2 separate regions of the Homo sapiens genome follow, and region 1 is linked to region 2. Evidence: promoter capture Hi-C in 16 types of primary human blood cells and fetal thymus (Javierre and others, 2016). All regions are on one chromosome and are shown on one strand. Each heading gives the region's core, a stretch centred on a gene start or on the middle of the fragment in contact. The rest is flanking DNA. Distances are from core to core; before and after follow the strand shown.

Region 1 (4,141 bases), core at 579-3,078, 530 kb after region 2:
AGCTGCCCCTGCTCCCCACCTACTCTGTCTCAGACACCTGCTCCCACCCCCAGACCCTCAGCTCTCTTTTGCCTCCAGACCTTCTTGGAGGACTGTTTCCCTGCCAGGAACACCTTCCCTATGCTTTGCACAGCAAATTCTTTTTTTTTTTTTTTCTCGGGGGTGGGGGATAGGGTCTCACTTTGTCACCCAGGCTGGAGTGCAGTGGCCCAATCATAGCTCACTGCAGCCTCGAACTCCTGGGCTCAAGTGATTCTCCTGTCTCTACCTTCCAAATAGCTGGGATCATAGGCACATGCCATCACACCCGGCTAATTTCTTTGTATATATATATATTTTTTAAATAGAGGTGGTTTCACCATGTTGCCTGGGCTGGTCTCGAACTCCAGAGCTCAAGCAAGCTGCACACCTGAGCCTCAAAACGCTGAGATTACAGGCAGAAGCCACCACACCTGGCCTGCATGGCGAATTCTGACTATCACTCAAGACCTTCTATGCAGTCCACCCACCCGGTGCCTTCCCCAGCTGGGGCTCCCCCAGTCCCAGGCCCCTCCCTCTGACCCCTCAACTTTGGCTCTCTGAGCCCCTTCCTTGGGCCCCTCATTTCTCAAGGGCCAGACCCAGGGTTGGGGCCTCTAGGGGCTGGGAGGAAACTGGGCAGGCCCAGAGAGCAGGCACCCCAAGGGTGGTCGGGGGGTCCCCAAGGAAGGTGCCCTTACGGCTTCTTACCCCCCGACCCTGCCCCCAGCTTTGTGCTCCAAGGGGTGGCCTTAGGTCTCAAATTTGTTTATTTATTTATTTTTATTTATTTATTTTTTGAGATGGAGTCTCACTCTGTTGCCCAGGCTGGAGTGTAGTGGCGCGATCTTGGCTCACTGCAAGCTCTGCCTCCCGGGTTCAAGCGATTCTCCTGCCTCAGCCTCCCGAGTAGCTGAGACTACAGGCCTGCACCACCACATCTGGCTGATTTTGTAGTTTTAGTAGAGACAGGGTTTCACCAGGTTGGTCAGGCTGGCCTCGAACTCCTGACCTCAAATGATCTGCCCGCCTCCCAAAGCACTGGGATTACAGGCGTGAGCCATCGCGCCAGCCTGTTTATTAAGAGACAGGGGTCTCGCCCTGTCGCCCAGGCTGGAGTGCAGTGGTGCGATCACAGCTTGCTGTAGCCTCCACCTCCTGCACTCAAGCGATCCTCCTGCCTCAGGCTCCCAAAGTGCTGGGACCACAGGCACGCGCCACCATGTCTGATTTCCCTTTTGTTGTTGATGGGGCACGGGTCCAAGAGCTTGGGCTTGACACAGCAGAGGAGCTTCACGGACATTGGCAGCCTCCGACAGGCCTTGACCCTTCTTCCGGCCTCAATTTACCCATCCATTCCCTGGGGTGGCTGAGCTAAGCTGACCTGCTGAGCTCCTGGGCTCTAGGTCATTATTGTGACCGCACTTCCAGTTCAGAGTGCCCCCACATCCTGGCAGAGCAGGGGACACAGGACATCTTCCCACACACACCCCGCTGCCCTGTGCTCCATGCTGCTGGGGCCCCAGCAGAACCTGTGAGGAGCCCCCAGGCTGGACGCAGAATCCTCTGGCCCTGTAGGGTCAGGGCTGGACCAGGGGGAGGCAGCCTGGGGTGATGACAGCCCCATGTTGGCAGGGGGTGGGGCAGGAAAGGCCCCATGTGTGGGGAGCTTGTGGCTGAGTCATGAGGACACCGAAAGCTTCTGAATGACAAAGGTGCAGGGAAGACCCTCCCAGCACAGGAAACAGCATGTGCAAAGGTGCCAAGGCAGCACCTGAGAGTGGGGAAGTCACAAGCCAGAAACTGGGTCCTAGGGAGTCCCTTGGTGAGGCCAAAGAGAGACCAGGCTGGAGAGGTCAGCAGGGGACAGAAAAAGCCTCAAATCCTGGGCCGAGGAGTTCGGGCTTCCCCCACAGAGTGGGAAGCTTTGGAGCAGACGGAGCTGAGTGTGTCCTGGCAGCTGGGCCAGCTCAACCGCACGGTCGTCTTGTGCAAATGAGAAAAATACACCCTTGGCCGGGCGCGGTGGCCTACGCCTGTAATCCCAGCACTTTGAGAGGGCGAGGCGGGTGGATCACCTGAGGTCACGAGTTGGAGACCAGCCTGGCAACATGGTGAAACCCCATCTCTACTAAAAATACAAAATTGGCCGGGCGTGGTGGCGGGCGCCTGTAGTCTCAGCTACTCAGGAGGCTGAGGCAGGAGGATAGCTTAAGCCTGGGAGGCAGAGGTTGCAGTGACTCAAGATTGCACCATTGCACTCCAGCCTGGGCAACAGTGCAAGACTCCCTCTCAAAAAAGAAAAGGCAGGCTGGGCGCGATGGCTCATGTCTGTAATCCCAGCACTTTGGGAGGCCAAGGGGGCAGATCACCTGAGGTCAGGAGTTCAAGACCAGCCTGGCCCACATGGCGAAAACCCATCTCTACTAAAAATATTAAAATTAGCTGGGTGCACTGGCGTGTGCCTGTAATTCCAGCTCCTCGGGAGGCTGAGGCAGGAGAATCACTTGAACCCGGGAGGCGGAGGTTGCAGCGAGCCAAGACTGTGCCACTGCACTCCAGCCTGGGCGACAGAGCAAGACTCTGTCTCAAAGAAAAGAAAAGAAAGACAAGACAAGAAAAAGAAAAAGACGCTCTCTCTCTGGGGGCTACACTTGGGAGTTCAGCTGCCTCCCAGCCGGTGTGTGTGTGTTTTGTGTGTTGCCGGGGGAGGGTGTTTTGTACAGTGCACAACATACCTCACTGTACATAGCCATCCCAGGTACCTGCAGCCTTCCATTTCTCCGTACAGTCTCCTCCCCTGCCTCCTCCTCCTCCTGTCCCTACACACACACACACACACACACACACACACACACACACACACACACACACACACACACACACATAAGCCAGCCTTCCTGAAGGGACTCACAGCCAAGGCCTCCTCTGTGGCAAATTCCATTGCCCCCCTCCTGTGCAAGCGTTCGAAGATGACCGTGTCGGCGCCCTTGGTGTACAGGCAGATGGCGCCCTCTGGCTTTCGAACTGTGGGGGAACAGGCCCTGCTGCCCACAGAGGCTCCCCGTCTGCCCGCCCCACCTTGGGGGGCCCAGGGCTTGGGTGGCGGGGCTCACCCAGCACCGACATCCGTTTGCGCGTGCTGTTGAAGTCCATTATGGCCAGGACCTGGTAGACCCGTTCCTCCCCCAGCTCCATGATCGTGACGGTGTCCTGGGTGCGGGACAGGAACACGTAGCCGAAGTTCCGGGCTGCGGTGACCAGCGCCCCCTCGTCGGGGGAGGCCGCCTGGTACAACAGCTGGTCTGGTAGGGAGGGGGGCCATTTTGGGGTCACGTGGTGGAGCCCGTCTCCATCTCCACAGTGCAGGGAGGAGATGGGTATCGCCTGGGCTACACCTTTATTGATGGTGGCCGGGGACCCCCGCCTGTACAACCCAATGCATGGAGGTGAGCACTTGAGACTAGACGACCTTCCCGCTCAACAACAGATCCTCGGGCTCCGACCGCAGGCCTGGACATCCTTTAGCCCTGACGATGACACGTCCGCCCTCCCGCCACGATGCTTGTCAGCACTGTCTGGGCTCCAGGCCCGGACGCCCTCGAGGTGCGGCTGGTGTCACACCGGCCTCAGCGCCCCCCAAGCCAGCTGAAAGCCCTGGAAGATGGGCCGGGTGAGCTGCGGGGCTGGGGACACTGCCGTGCCCCGGGGGCTGAGCGGCCTCAGAGATGGGGAGGTGGGTGGGCGCACCTGGGCGCTCACGGGGGCTCTCCCGCACCATCACCGTGTGGCAGATGGCCAGCAGGCGCCAGAACTCCCGCACGGCCTCGTCCCCGTTGGTCCGCACGAGGTGCAGCAGGGCCGCATTGTGGAAGAGCAGCTTCCCGTCGGCGAACTTGTTCCAGAGGTAGGGGTTCTCCTGGGGGTGGCGGGGGCACGGGCCGGCTGTGGGTGGGCCGCTCCCCGTGCCCCGTCCCCCTCACCGTCCCGCGCTGCAAGCCAGGCAGGCTCACCTTAGGTCGGGTCGTGGCCTCTGAATCCGGCCCTGGGGAAAGACACAGCTTCCTGCTTCAGCTCCCACAGGCCCCCCATTCGGGATCCCATAGCCCCTGACCCCTAGTTT
Region 2 (4,180 bases), core at 148-2,647:
ATCACACAGCTGCTGCCTGGGGGAGGGGGTCTTGAGCCCATGAGGGGTCCCAGAGACCTTGTCACTGGAGACAGCGCCCCTGGCTACCCCCACCTCGATCCACTTGAGGGTGGAAGTGAGTCTGAGGTCAGGAGTGGGGCCGGGATTTCCCTGGGATGAGCAGCAAAGCGGGGGTCTCTGTACGCCAACTTCCCCCAGCTTGTCAGCAGAGGGTCATCCCTCCGAAGACTTTCTGGGGCAGAGAGGCAGGGGTCCGCGCTGGCTTCTTCCACCAGGGCTGGGGGAGGCGGCGGCATGAGATGACTCCTGGGCGAGGAGCAAGTGGTGGCCATAGAGGGCCCCCCAGAGGCTTTGGGGCCGCCGAAGAGTAGTGAGTGAGGGTCCTTGTAAAGCTGGTTCTCCAGATGGCGGCGGCTTTAAGACTCCCCTCCGCCAACCAGGCTCAGTAGGGGAGGCCTGTGGAAGGAGAGAAAAGGCCTGGGTGGAGGAGCAGAGTGGGCCTGGCCCCGCGTGGGGAGCGAGTGCGCCGTTGCTGTGCAGCACGGTGGGAGGGGAGGCCGAGGGCCGGGCGGAGTGCTGGGGTGCAGTGGGGACTCGGGGTGTCCGCCTGCACCCGACAGCAGGGACGCACAACACTATCCGGCCAGGCGAGTGTGGGGGTGTGGGCCACGCACCCAGCCGTGATAATCGCGGTTCCAGTGGGAGTTAGGCTTGGGTGCGGGTTGGAGTTTGTAGGCAAACTGGGTTGCGTAAAGTTGGGGTGCACCAAAGTGTGGCGATGTAGGAAGAATTGGGATTGCGAATATTGGGGTTCGCATGAATGGGGTTGTCTCTGTTGGGGTTTTGGTGGGCATGGGGTTGATGGCAGGAATGGAGTGCTGGGGTGCTGGGAAAACTGGGACGTCGGTTGTATTGGCAAGAATATCACGACAGGTGTCGGGGTTCAGATGAAGTTGGGATGTCTGACAGCCGGGTCTTGGTTGGGTAGGGGATCTGGGCTAGGTTGTTATGTCGGGACTGCTGGAGCACAGGCAAAGTCGGGGTCCCAGTGACACCCAGAAGTCCCCATGAGGCCTGAGGCCTGGGAATCGGGGCTAGAGGCCCATTTGTTCCCCGCCGCAGGCCAGGGAGCAGGCACGCGTAACTGGGTCAGCCCCGCCCCGCCCCGCCGCGCGCTGGTCACGCCCCCTCGAGCGCGGGTGGAGGACTGCGGACTGCAAACGTCTCGGCCAATAGTCGAGCCCGACACCAGTCCGCGGGAGGGGGCGGAACCGAGATAGACTCGGCCCCCAGCTCATGAATATAAGACGCAGGCGCGCCCTCTGATTGGCCCAGGATGTGTAGGGGGCGGGGCCCGGCGGAAGCGTATATAAGGCCGGGCTCGGGGACGCCCCCCCCTCACTCGCGCGTTAGGAGGCTCGGGTCGTTGTGGTGCGCTGTCTTCCCGCTTGCGTCAGGGACCTGCCCGACTCAGTGGTGAGGGCCCTGGCTGCACCGGCTCCGAGGAGCTCGGGGCGGCGGGCGGCCTGCGGCGGCCAGGCGAGGCGGGGCCGCAGCGGCACGCCCCTGGGAGGGGGCGGGCCCGGGGTGGAGTCCGCCCCGCCGGCGGCGAGGGACAGCGGGAGATTGGGCCGAGTAGCGGCCAGAGGGCCTCTCCCCGCCGGTCCGGGCCGCCGGCGACCCGGTTGCCGCCGCAAAATGGCGGCCGCGAGCTCGAGGCTGTGCCCAGCGAAATGGCGGGAGCGCCGAGTTCCCGGATGGAGTGGCGCAGGGTGCGCGCGGGGCGCATGCGCACGCGGCGGGGGCGGGGCCACGTGGCGCCCCCGGTCTCCAGGGCCGCTTTCCCGGCCTTGGGGCTGGAGGTATCCACACACCAACGCTTTTGCTTACCGAGCCTTAGTTTCCTCCTTTTCCCATTGCGATTGCATGAGGGAAAGGACGGCCTCGTAAATCTTGGGTAGGCGTGGCCCGTTCTAGTGTGGTTCCTCGTCTGCCACGTCGTGCTTTGCGCCCAAAGTTTGGTCCAAGTTGGCACAGCTCCCAGTGCCAGACTTCCAAGTCTAGTTCTCAGAGCCACTGGGTGGCGGCCATTCCCAGCCAGTGAATGCTTTGTCTGTGTCAGCACTGACCGCCCCCTTAAATAGCCAGTTCTCCTAAATGCCACTTCCCCTGCCTGGAAATCCTGCCTTATCACTTCCGGGGCCATCCCTTCCCGATTCCCGGCCTAGGTCCTGGCTATGGAAGTCAGTACCTGCCCTGAGGTGCCCCCCAGGACGGGGCGGCCTCCCTGACAGCCAGCCCCCCCCCCAGTCTCAGGAGGCATTTTACAGTGAGCAGAAGCACGTTCTGGTCCAGCAACAAGTAGATGTCAGTTGGTTAGGGTAGGAGTTGGCACCCGTTCGGAAATAGGAGAACCTGAGAGTGCAGTCCTGCCCAGGGCACAACTGGAAGGCTGTGGGGGAAGGGAGACACCCATTGTGGAAATGGGTGCGGCCTGCCTTCAGTCTTGGGGGTGGATGGAGTAAATTATTTGAATTAAGAAGTCCTAGGTGGCTGGGTGCGGTGGCTCACACCTGTAATCCCAAAACTTTGGGTGGCCAAGGTGGGAGGATTGCTTGAGCCCAGGAGTTTCAGACCAGCCTGGGCAACAGAGCAAGACCCCATCTCTACTAAAACAAATTTAAAAAAATTATCCAGGCGTGGTGGTGTACACCTACAGTCCCAGTTTCTTGGGAGGCTGAGGTAGGAGGATTGCTTGAGCCCAGGAGGTGGAGGCTGCAGTGACCCCTGCACTCCAGTCTGGGTGACAGTTAGACACACTGCCCCCGACCCCAAAAAAATAAGTCCTAGGTATGAGTTTGAGATAATGAAAAATAAAAATCTGATTTTCTAATATTTCCCCTAAAAAACACATGTCATTTACATAAAATAGGAAGCGGGGAGAGGTGGTGAGAGATGACCCCTGTTGAGGATTTCATTGGTGTCTGCCACAGGCCGCCATGGCATCAGATGAAGGCAAACTTTTTGTTGGAGGGCTGAGTTTTGACACCAATGAGCAGTCGCTGGAGCAGGTCTTCTCAAAGTACGGACAGATCTCTGAAGGTGAGGCTGCTGCTGGGCCCGCGGCCCTGGGCGGGGGGGCTTGTGCTCCTCCTACCTGGAAGTACAGCTGGGTGCTGACTGCAGACCTCTCTCCCCTGCACAGTGGTGGTTGTGAAAGACAGGGAGACCCAGAGATCTCGGGGATTTGGGTTTGTCACCTTTGAGAACATTGACGACGCTAAGGATGCCATGATGGCCATGAATGGGAAGGTGAGGATCAGGGTGCTGAGCAGGAGTCCCGTCTCGAGGATGGGGCACCCACCTGCTAACCCGTCCCGCCCTCTGTCTCCAGTCTGTAGATGGACGGCAGATCCGAGTAGACCAGGCAGGCAAGTCGTCAGACAACCGATCCCGTGGGTACCGTGGTGGCTCTGCCGGGGGCCGGGGCTTCTTCCGTGGGGGCCGAGGACGGGGCCGTGGGTTCTCTAGAGGTGAGTGCCATGAGTGGGTCCCTTGGGGATGCTGTGAGGTACTGCTGGTGGGAGCTGGTACTCACTTTTTCCTGTATGTGCAGGAGGAGGGGACCGAGGCTATGGGGGGAACCGGTTCGAGTCCAGGAGTGGGGGCTACGGAGGCTCCAGAGACTACTATAGCAGGTGAGGGGGAGGCCGGCCCAAGCACAGGGGTGGTTGCGGGATGGCCAGCTTCCGTCCCGGGTCCCAGGTCCCTGGGGGAGCTGAGATGAGACTGGCTGGGCAAGGAGCAGAGGCAGGTGGGGACCCAGGCCAAGAGGAGAGGAGACTGCTCAGGACATTCGCAGAAGCGGGAGGGCCTGGGGGACAGGCTGGTGGAGATTTTGAACAATTTCCAAGATGCTGCCCTGCTGGGGTCCTTGTTGTGTCCCCAGAAGGGACGGCTGGCATGGGGGCTGGCGGCTCAGCCTGTTGTGGCAGAGCAGAAGTAGACGGGTACCTTCCGGTACTCAACGTTTGTCTGTCTTGCAGCCGGAGTCAGAGTGGTGGCTACAGTGACCGGAGCTCGGGCGGGTCCTACAGAGACAGTTATGACAGTTACGGTAAGTCACACTCCGAGGGCGCCACGCTGCTGTGGCCTGCGGTGGGAGCTCGGTTCACCTTGG

The links. Contacts are between HindIII fragments. The CHiCAGO score rates a contact against its expected background, and 5 or more counts as called.
Region 1: a contact is called between a fragment that was not itself captured here and the fragment with the promoter of CIRBP in region 2, in 1 of 17 cell types (naive B cells). The highest score is 5.0, in naive B cells.

What each region holds. Positions count from the first base shown.
Region 1 is chr19:1,792,943-1,797,083 of GRCh38, forward strand. ATP8B3 (ATPase phospholipid transporting 8B3) reads right to left here. Exons shown (of 29, transcript NM_138813.4): 15 at 4,032-4,063; 16 at 3,769-3,937; 17 at 3,135-3,323; 18 at 2,933-3,045. Among named protein-coding and RNA genes, the nearest start is that of ATP8B3, 17 kb to the right of the region's middle. RefSeq lists enhancers at 2,668-3,480, 2,888-3,182, 3,481-4,141 and a silencer at 2,888-3,182. The HindIII fragment of the contact is 226 bases long and covers 1,716-1,941 here.
Region 2 is chr19:1,267,935-1,272,114 of GRCh38, forward strand. CIRBP (cold inducible RNA binding protein) reads left to right here and starts at 1,398. Exons shown (of 6, transcript NM_001300829.2): 1 at 1,398-1,476; 2 at 2,994-3,102; 3 at 3,206-3,312; 4 at 3,395-3,533; 5 at 3,617-3,698; 6 at 4,047-4,180. The coding sequence starts at 3,000. CIRBP-AS1 (CIRBP antisense RNA 1) reads right to left here and starts at 2,326. Exons shown (of 2, transcript NR_027271.1): 1 at 1,891-2,326; 2 at 1-456. RefSeq lists silencers at 1,075-1,284, 1,495-1,654, 1,705-2,014. The HindIII fragment of the contact is 17,228 bases long and covers 1-4,180 here.